Linked DNA regions of Homo sapiens: region 2 is linked to region 1. The links are contacts of gene promoters, found by promoter capture Hi-C in blood cells and fetal thymus (Javierre and others, 2016). All regions are on one chromosome and are shown on one strand. The core of a region is centred on a gene start or on the middle of the fragment in contact, and the rest is flanking DNA. Distances in the headings are between cores, read along the strand shown.

Region 1 (3,811 bases), core at 1,312-3,811:
AATGCTTATTCCAGTGCCTGGGATGAAGCAAGGGTTTGACAAATGTGGTCATTATTATCACAACTGTCTTTATCTCTCTGCACCTCTACTTCCTCTGCTGCAGACCTGGGGTTGATATGCATCCTCCAAGTATCTGTGGCAGGCAGACTCTAGAATGGCCTCCATTGATTCACATCTTTTGGTATTCATGCCCTTGTGTAATCCCCTGTGGGCAAATCCTGTGACTTGCTACTAACAAATAGAACATGGCAAAACTGATGTCACTTTCTTGATTAGGTTACATGAGGTTGTAATTTCTCTCTTCTTAGTAGAATCTCCTATTGCCTCCTTTTGTTTGTTTGAGACAGGGTCTTGCTCTGTTGTGCAGGCTGGAGTGCAGTGGTGTGATCACAGCTAACTGCAGCCTCGAACTCCTGGGCTCAAGCAATTCTCCTGCCTCGACCTCCTAAGTAGCTGGGACTACAGGCATGCACCAGCATGCCTGGCTAATTTTAAATTTTTTTTTGTAGAGACGAAGTCTCGCTATGTTGCCTAAGATGGCCTCAGACTTCTGGGCTCAAGCAATCTTCCCACCTTAGCCCCCCGAAGTGTTGGGATTATAGGCATGAGCCACGGTGCCCGGCCCCTATTGCCTTCTTTTATTTATTTATTTATTTTTAATTTTTAGAGACTGGGTCTTGCTATGTTGCTCAGGCTCAATTTGAACTCCTAGGCGCAAACAATCCTCCTGCTTCAGCCTCCCAACCTGCTGGAACCATAAGCATGTGCCACCACTCTTGGCTTCCCTATTAACTTTTAGGCTTGCATGCTTTGATGAAGCAGGCTGCTACACTGGAGAAGCCTACGTGACAAGCCTTTAGCCAAAATCCAGCTAGGAACTGAGACCCTTAGTCCAACAACCATTAAGGAACTGAATTTAGCCACTAGACATGGGAAGCAGATCCTTTTTGAGTTGAGCCTTTAAATGAGACTCCAGCCCTGGCCGATATCTTGATTGCAGTCTTGTGGGTGACCCTGATGCAGAGGAGCCAGCTATGCCATCCTCAGATTCCTGGCCCACAGAAAATGTGAGATAATAAATATGTTTGTTGGCCAGGTGTGGTGGCTCACGCCTGTAACCCCAGCACTTTGGAAGGCTGAGGCAGGCGGATCACGACGTCAAGAGATCGAGACCATCCTGGCCAACATGGTGAAACTCCGTCTCTACTAAAAATACAAAAATTAGCTGGGCCTGGTGGCTCATGCCTGTAGTCCTGCCTACTTGGGAGGCTGAGGCAGGAGAATCGCTTGAACCCACTGTAACCTCCGGGAGGCAGAGGTTACAGTGAGCCAAGATCACACCACTGCACTCCAGCCTGGTGACAGAGTGAGACTCTGTCTCAAAATAAATAAATAAATAAATGTGTTTGTTATAAGTGGCAAGCAGTGTGTTGTTATAAGTTTGTGGTAATATGTTATGCAGCAATACAAAACTAATATAATATCCAGCCCCTCTCATCTCATTTCTGGTTTACAGCCCATCTCTCCTATTTCCTTAGCACCCTGCATTCATCACACTGACTCATTGCTATTGGTTTTCTTGCACTTCCTATCCTGTAAGCCCCTTGAAGACAGGCACTGAACTAAGCATTCCTTGTAGCCCTAGTGCAGATAGCAGGGGTTGGCAGGAGTGTCCTGGGAAATATTTCACAATCCCAGGGTGGGGTTGTGTTCTCCATTCGGGGGCTTCTATAACACCCCAATAATGATGGTGGTTGGTTTTGAATTCTTACTGTGTACCAGGCACTGAGATGAAGCCAGGAATGTGTGTTCTTAACAAGTTTTCTGTGATGATTCTGATCCATAGTCAGGCTTAGGAACCACTAAACCTACATTACCTGAGACATTCTGTAGAAAAAATTGCATCCTTCTCTTAGGATAGCTATACTTGTAACTTCCTTAAACAAAACAGAACAAAACTGTATTGCATACATACAGAAAAATGCACAAATCTTAAGCGTACAATTTGATGAATTTTCCAAAGTGAACACATCTACATGGCTACCACCGAGATGAAGACAGGGGGTGACCCCAGCCTCACTTGTGGCCCCTCCCAGCCCACAGCCCCAGAGGAAACCACCAATTTTAACACCATCACTACTCATGAGTTCTGTCTGTTCTAGAATTTCCCGTAAATGAAATCGCAGTCTGTACTTGTACATCTGCTTAACATTATGTTCGTGCTTTTGACTTGTTAAAATTTCTCTTCTGGATTAAATATGTAAAACGGTGACTAAGGAGGTCGGGCAGAAGGTGGAAGCCTGGGATTCCGAGACGTCCTCTCAGGTGCCATACTTGGATTTCCCGAGAGGTGTAATCACACAGCCCGCCCTCAGCTGACCTATTCTCTGCTTAAGCAGGAAGGGAGATAGGAGGGGAAGGGGGCGTGGCTACAGACGCCGAGTGTGGGGCGGAGTCTTAAGAAGAGAGGCGCAACCCGGGTCCGGCTTCCCGGCGGTAGTTTGCTCGGCTCTGGGGGCGGGGCCAGGCCGAGACTTCCTGTCTGCTCCTGCGGAATCGCAGTTTGACCCCGGAAGTGCGGGCGCTCAGGGAGCTGTCACCGTGGTCGGCGGCGGCGGCGGCGGCGGCGGCACAGAGCCGGTGGTGGAGCCGCCGAGGTGAGTGCGTGGCTGGTCCCTGCCAGATGCAGGGCAAGGGACCCCGGAGGAGCCGCGGCTATGCCTTGGGCAGCCTTGGCTCTCCCATCCTCTGGCCTCCATTGCGGGGCCCACGCTTACGCTACCTGAGGGGTTGTGAGCCGCCTCTCGAGACTTGGCCGCCAGGGTCAGGAGCCACGGGTTCGAAGTTCGGCCCCAGAGTGGCGTTGGACCAGCCACGATCCCCCCACGTCCTCACACCCGGGGCTTCAGTTTCCTCAGGGTTCATTCATTCGTTCAGCAAATATTTGTGGAGTGCTTCCTATGTGCCAGACACAGATCTAGACATTGGGGATACAAAGAAAGCAAGACAGACAAGGCTTCTGCCCTCATGGAGCTTACAGTCTAGTGGGAGGAGATGGTCAACGACAAGCAAATGCACAAGGTCATTAAAGCTATGACAGTAACTGGGAGAGTGGATACTATAGGCAGAGCCATCAGAAGGTCTCTGAGGAGAGTAGTATTTAATTGAGAGACTAGAGGAATGATGACAAAGAGGCTGAGGGAGCAGTAGCCCCGGGGATGCTCCCAGGCCATATTGCAATTGGGTGCTTGTAGGGAGCTCCCCCTCCCTTTCTTAGCTTTTGGCTTTTGCTGTCCTGCCTGGCAGGGGAATACAGTGGTGGGCACAGACATAGTCATGATTATTGTTTGTCCTTTTGGAGCTCAAAGTTCAGATTGTCCAGTTAATTTATTTTTTCCCCCCAAGACGGGGTCTTGCTCTGTCGCCCAGGCTGGAGTGCAGTGGCGTGATCTCGTCCCACTGCAACCTCCGCCTCCCGGGTTCAAGCGATTCTCCTGCCTCAGCCTCCTGAGTAGCTAGGATTACAGGCATGCACCACCACGCCCTGCTAATTTTTTTTTTTTTTTTCGGTAGAGACGGGGTTTCACCTTGCTAGCCAGGATGGTCTCGATCTCCTGGCCTCGTGATCCGCCCGCCTTGGCCTCCCAAAGCGCTGGGATTACAGGCGTGAGCCATCGCGCCCAGCCCTGCCTACTTAATTTGTACCCGTGCTTTAGACAAAAACTCAGGTCTTCCTTGACATCACTTCTTCCTCAAGCCAGGTCTCTCTTTTAAATGCTGCCACAGCTTCATGAGCCTTATCTACATAGCT
Region 2 (4,066 bases), core at 811-3,310, 240 kb before region 1:
ACACCACACCACGCCTTCAATTGCCCTATTTTATATGGTGGCACAATTACTTCCTATTTTACCCCTACTATGTGTGAGTCCAAGATTCACATAAAGATTAGCCAGCTGCTGTTTAGTTTACTAAGGCCTAAACCACTTTTTTAACCATTCCAAGTGAAGCAAAAGCCAAAGTTTTATTACATTTTCCCAAATATAATCATAGTTGATTTATGAAGGCTCTCTACCCATCTTTCTCAATCTTCAAAAACCGTTTTTTACAAGAAAATCCCTTTTCTATCAGGTGAACACTATCCAATAGCTGGATTCTGAAATGTAACTATATTACCTTCCTTACACATGCATGTTGTTAAGAATGGCTTTACTCAAAAGAAGTGTACGTTAACATAAATGGGTTCAATAGATTCCTAAAGCTGGAAGGGAGCACAGACATCTTCCAACCCCTTTGATTTAAAGAAGATCCAATTCTGTGGAGGAAGAATCTTTTTTTCAGCAAATGATGCTGAAACAAAAGGACATCTGGAGGGTGGGGGGAAGAACAGAGAATTAAAAGAAACTTAACCTAAATCTCACACTGTATACAAATATTAATGCAAAATGGATCATGGATTTAAACCTAAACATAAAACTATAAAGAAAAGGGGCCAGGTGCAGTGGCTCACACCTGTAATCCCAGCACTCTGGGAGGCCGAGGTGGGAGGATCACGAGGTCAAGAGATCGAGACTATCCTGGCCAACATGGTGAAACCCTGTCTCTACTAAAAATAAAAAAAAATAAAAAAATTTAGCTGGGCGTGGTGGTGCACACCTGTAGTCCCAGCTACATGGGAGGCTGAGGCAGGGGAATCGCTTGAACCCGAGAGGTGGAGGTTGCAGTGAGCTGAGATTGCGTCACTGCACTCCAGCCTGGCACAGAGCTCGACTCCATCTCACAAAAAAAAAAGAAAAAAGAAAAGGAAAGTGAGGCTAAGCAAGGGAACTTGGTTTGCCAAAGTTCGCCCAATTACTTAGACCTTCCAACAGAGCTTGCTTCAATAAATTATTCACCATTTTAACAAATTCCATTTGGCCCTGGTAATTCCCCTACCTGTGCTCATTCAGAGAAAATGGCTTCCACTATATTAATTGAGTATTTGTTCATGCTCTTTTGACTTTTTAATATCTTTTTCATGCTATTTCAATTATTCATTCATTCAACATCTACGAGGCAACTACAATGTGCCAGGCAACAACATGCAGGATTACGAGATGTAAAATACTGTTCCTACCTCAACAGATTGATGGTCCAATGGAGGAGAAATTAGATTATGATCCTGCTGAGATTAAAAACCCCTTTAGGGGCCAGAACCACCCCTCATTTCTACCAGCTGAGTACACGATGTACTGCACAGCCTGTCCAGTGCCCTGCGTACTCGGACACATTTTGGCGATTGGCTAATCCTGAGGTTCAAGACTCTCTCCCTCTGTTTAGGGAACTAAAGTCCATAGGGATTAATTGGCAAATCCTCACTAAAGTGAAAGGGGAGCTGAGGTCAAGGGGGGCGGGGTGTCTTGTCCCCACCTCTCTCACCTCTTGGCCTGTACCAGGCATCGATCCTGGCAGAAAACCTCAATGGCTGGGGAGAATCTGACCCAGGTAAGATAAACTTCCCCAAAGCTCCACCACACACGGCCCCCTCCAATGTCGGGCACAGACATCGTCTGCCCTGCCAGCCTCATCATGGCTCATTATGGCTGCTGCTTGCTCAGCAAGTTTGATTTCATGTCCAGAAAAATCTGAATTTCAAAACTACCTGGGTGCTCTCTGTCCAGTTCTGGGGGAAATCGCCTCCCTTTTGCCTTCCTCCTCAGCCCCCTGCCCTCCCGATTCTCTTCACAGTACTTTAGGCCCTCACGAAATATGATACTTTCAAATCCAACTTAAAGCCTTAAGTAATAAGAAAAGAAAAAAAAATTGTTTTTTGACATAAAGACAGAACTAACAACGCCCGAGTGCCCTCTCTGGGCCGAGACCTCGCGTCTCAACAGCCCTCACCTCAGCTCGTCGACGCTTCCCTCCCACCGGGGGTCAACGGCCTTTTCCGGCCCAAACCCGCTCCTCGGCTCATGAATAGTCAACGAGGCCTTTCTGGGCGGGACCAGAGGTTTCCTCATGAATAATTCATGACCCGTCCACGGCTAGCCTGGGCGACCGGCCTCGCTAGACTTCATGAATATGCAAAGCAGGGGCGAACGGCGGCTAGCCGGCCCCTAGCCCGCCCGGCCCCTCAGCAGCCGCCTCTCAGCCACGGGCTGCACACTGACCCGACGCGACCTTCGGTCAGGGGCCGCCAGCCTGGGCCACCTATACAACGACAGCCTGCTCCGGGGCTTCCTGAGGAGGTGCCTGCCCCGCCGAGGTTAGGACCCGAGGGACCGTGGGGCTCGGGCGGGCCAGGACGCCAGGCCGGCGGGTCCCAGAGAGGTCTGAGGCGGGCGCGGGGCGGCGTAGGGGAGGGAAGCGAGAGCCTGGGGGGCCCAGGGACCCGAGTTAGAAGAAGGCCCGAGAAGTGCGGCGCGGTGGCTCCACCTGGGATCCCAGCACTCTGGGAGGCTGAGGCGGGCGCGTCACTTGAGGTCAGGAATTCGAGACCAGCCTGGCCAACATGTTGAAAACCCGTCTCTACAAAAAATACAAAAATTAGCTGGGCGTGGTGGCGCGCGCCTGTAGTCCCAGCTACTTGGGAAGCTGAGGCACGAGAATCGCTTGAGCCCAGGAGGCTGAGGTTGCAGTGAGCCGAGATTCCGCCATTGCACTCCAGCCTGGGCGACAGAGCGAGACTCCGTCTCAAAAAAATTTTAAAAAGTACAAAAATTAGCTGGGCCACCTGACGTGCGCCTGTAGTCCCAGCTGCTCGGGAGGCTGAGGTAGGAGGATCGCTTGAGCCGGGGAGTTTGAGGTTGCAGTGAGCCAAGATCGTACCATTGCACTCCAGCCTGGGCAACAGAGGGAGACCCTGTCTCAAAAATAAAAAAAAAGAAAAGAAAGAAAAAAGACATAAGGCCAGAAGGCCAGAGCTTTCCAATACTTGAGGGCATCTGCAACCTCTTCATCCCTACCCTGGACCTGACTTTGCATTCTTTTTAACATTAATTTGTAATTATGCAAATAAAACATAAATATATTCTCCTTTGTGCCCTACCCCTAATCTCAGTTTTTTCTGCCCTGGTAACTGTGGGAGCAGTTGGGGGTGTGGCTCCTTGGATCGTTTCTCACCTGTTTAGGTAGATATTTCGTATCCTGTGGTGCTTTCCAAAGGCTCCTGGAGTCCCATGAACCTCCCCAAGGGGATTTCCCAAGAGAGTAGATGAAAGAGTGAGCCACTTGAAACCTGTTCTTATTTTGTTTCTGCAGGAAAGAAAAAAAAAACTATTCAAGTTGGCGAGAACATGAGTTTAGAACATAATGACTAAAACTGAAATTTGGGCTGAAATATTCTTTTAGTGCAAGTTTTCTCAACCTTCTCCCCACCCCCACCATCATAACAACCAAAAATTTCTCTAGACTTTGCCAAATGTCCCATGGGGTGTGCAAAATTGCCCTCTGTTGAGAACTACTGCGTTCACCCTATACTTTCCGGAAGTAACTGCTTTTTAAGCTCCAACCACACAGATGGTTTGTCTGCACCAGCCCTTCTCAGCCTCCGCATTTACCAGCCTCTCTGGCTGGATCACTAGGCCCTCTGTGCTGGCTGTTCTAATTTTCTTCTGCCTTCAGATCTGAGCTCAGTCAACTGCTACCATATCCAAAGACTTACCCCTCTCTGCCCTATACTATTGGCAGTCTACCCCACCAGCAAACACAGTTATTCGTTATTCTGTTTCTTTCATAGAATTTCTCTCAATCTAATTTTTTTTTTTTTTTTTTTTTTTTTTTTTTGTGAGACAGAGTCTTGCTCTGTCACCCAGGCTGGAGTGCAGTGGCGTGATATTGGCTCGCTGCCACCTCCACCTCCCAGGCTCAAGTGATTCTCCTGCCTCAGCCACCTAAGTAGCTGGGGTTACAGGCATGCATCACCATGCCCGGCTG

The links. Contacts are between HindIII fragments. The CHiCAGO score rates a contact against its expected background, and 5 or more counts as called.
Region 2: the fragment with the promoter of HORMAD2 here is called in contact with the fragment with the promoter of ASCC2 in region 1 in 1 of 17 cell types (M1 macrophages); the score reaches 6.0 in M1 macrophages.

The regions. Positions count from the first base shown.
Region 1 is chr22:29,837,024-29,840,834 of GRCh38, reverse strand. ASCC2 (activating signal cointegrator 1 complex subunit 2) reads left to right here and starts at 2,561. Exons shown (of 20, transcript NM_032204.5): 1 at 2,561-2,657. RefSeq lists an enhancer at 2,229-2,288. The HindIII fragment of the contact is 11,938 bases long and covers 1-3,811 here.
Region 2 is chr22:30,078,458-30,082,523 of GRCh38, reverse strand. HORMAD2 (HORMA domain containing 2) reads right to left here and starts at 2,060. Exons shown (of 11, transcript NM_152510.4): 1 at 2,033-2,060. HORMAD2-AS1 (HORMAD2 and MTMR3 antisense RNA 1) reads left to right here and starts at 2,267. Exons shown (of 5, transcript NR_110541.2): 1 at 2,267-2,396. RefSeq lists enhancers at 1,990-2,069, 1,907-2,604, 3,779-3,858 and silencers at 2,410-2,459, 3,909-4,028. The HindIII fragment of the contact is 6,725 bases long and covers 1-4,066 here.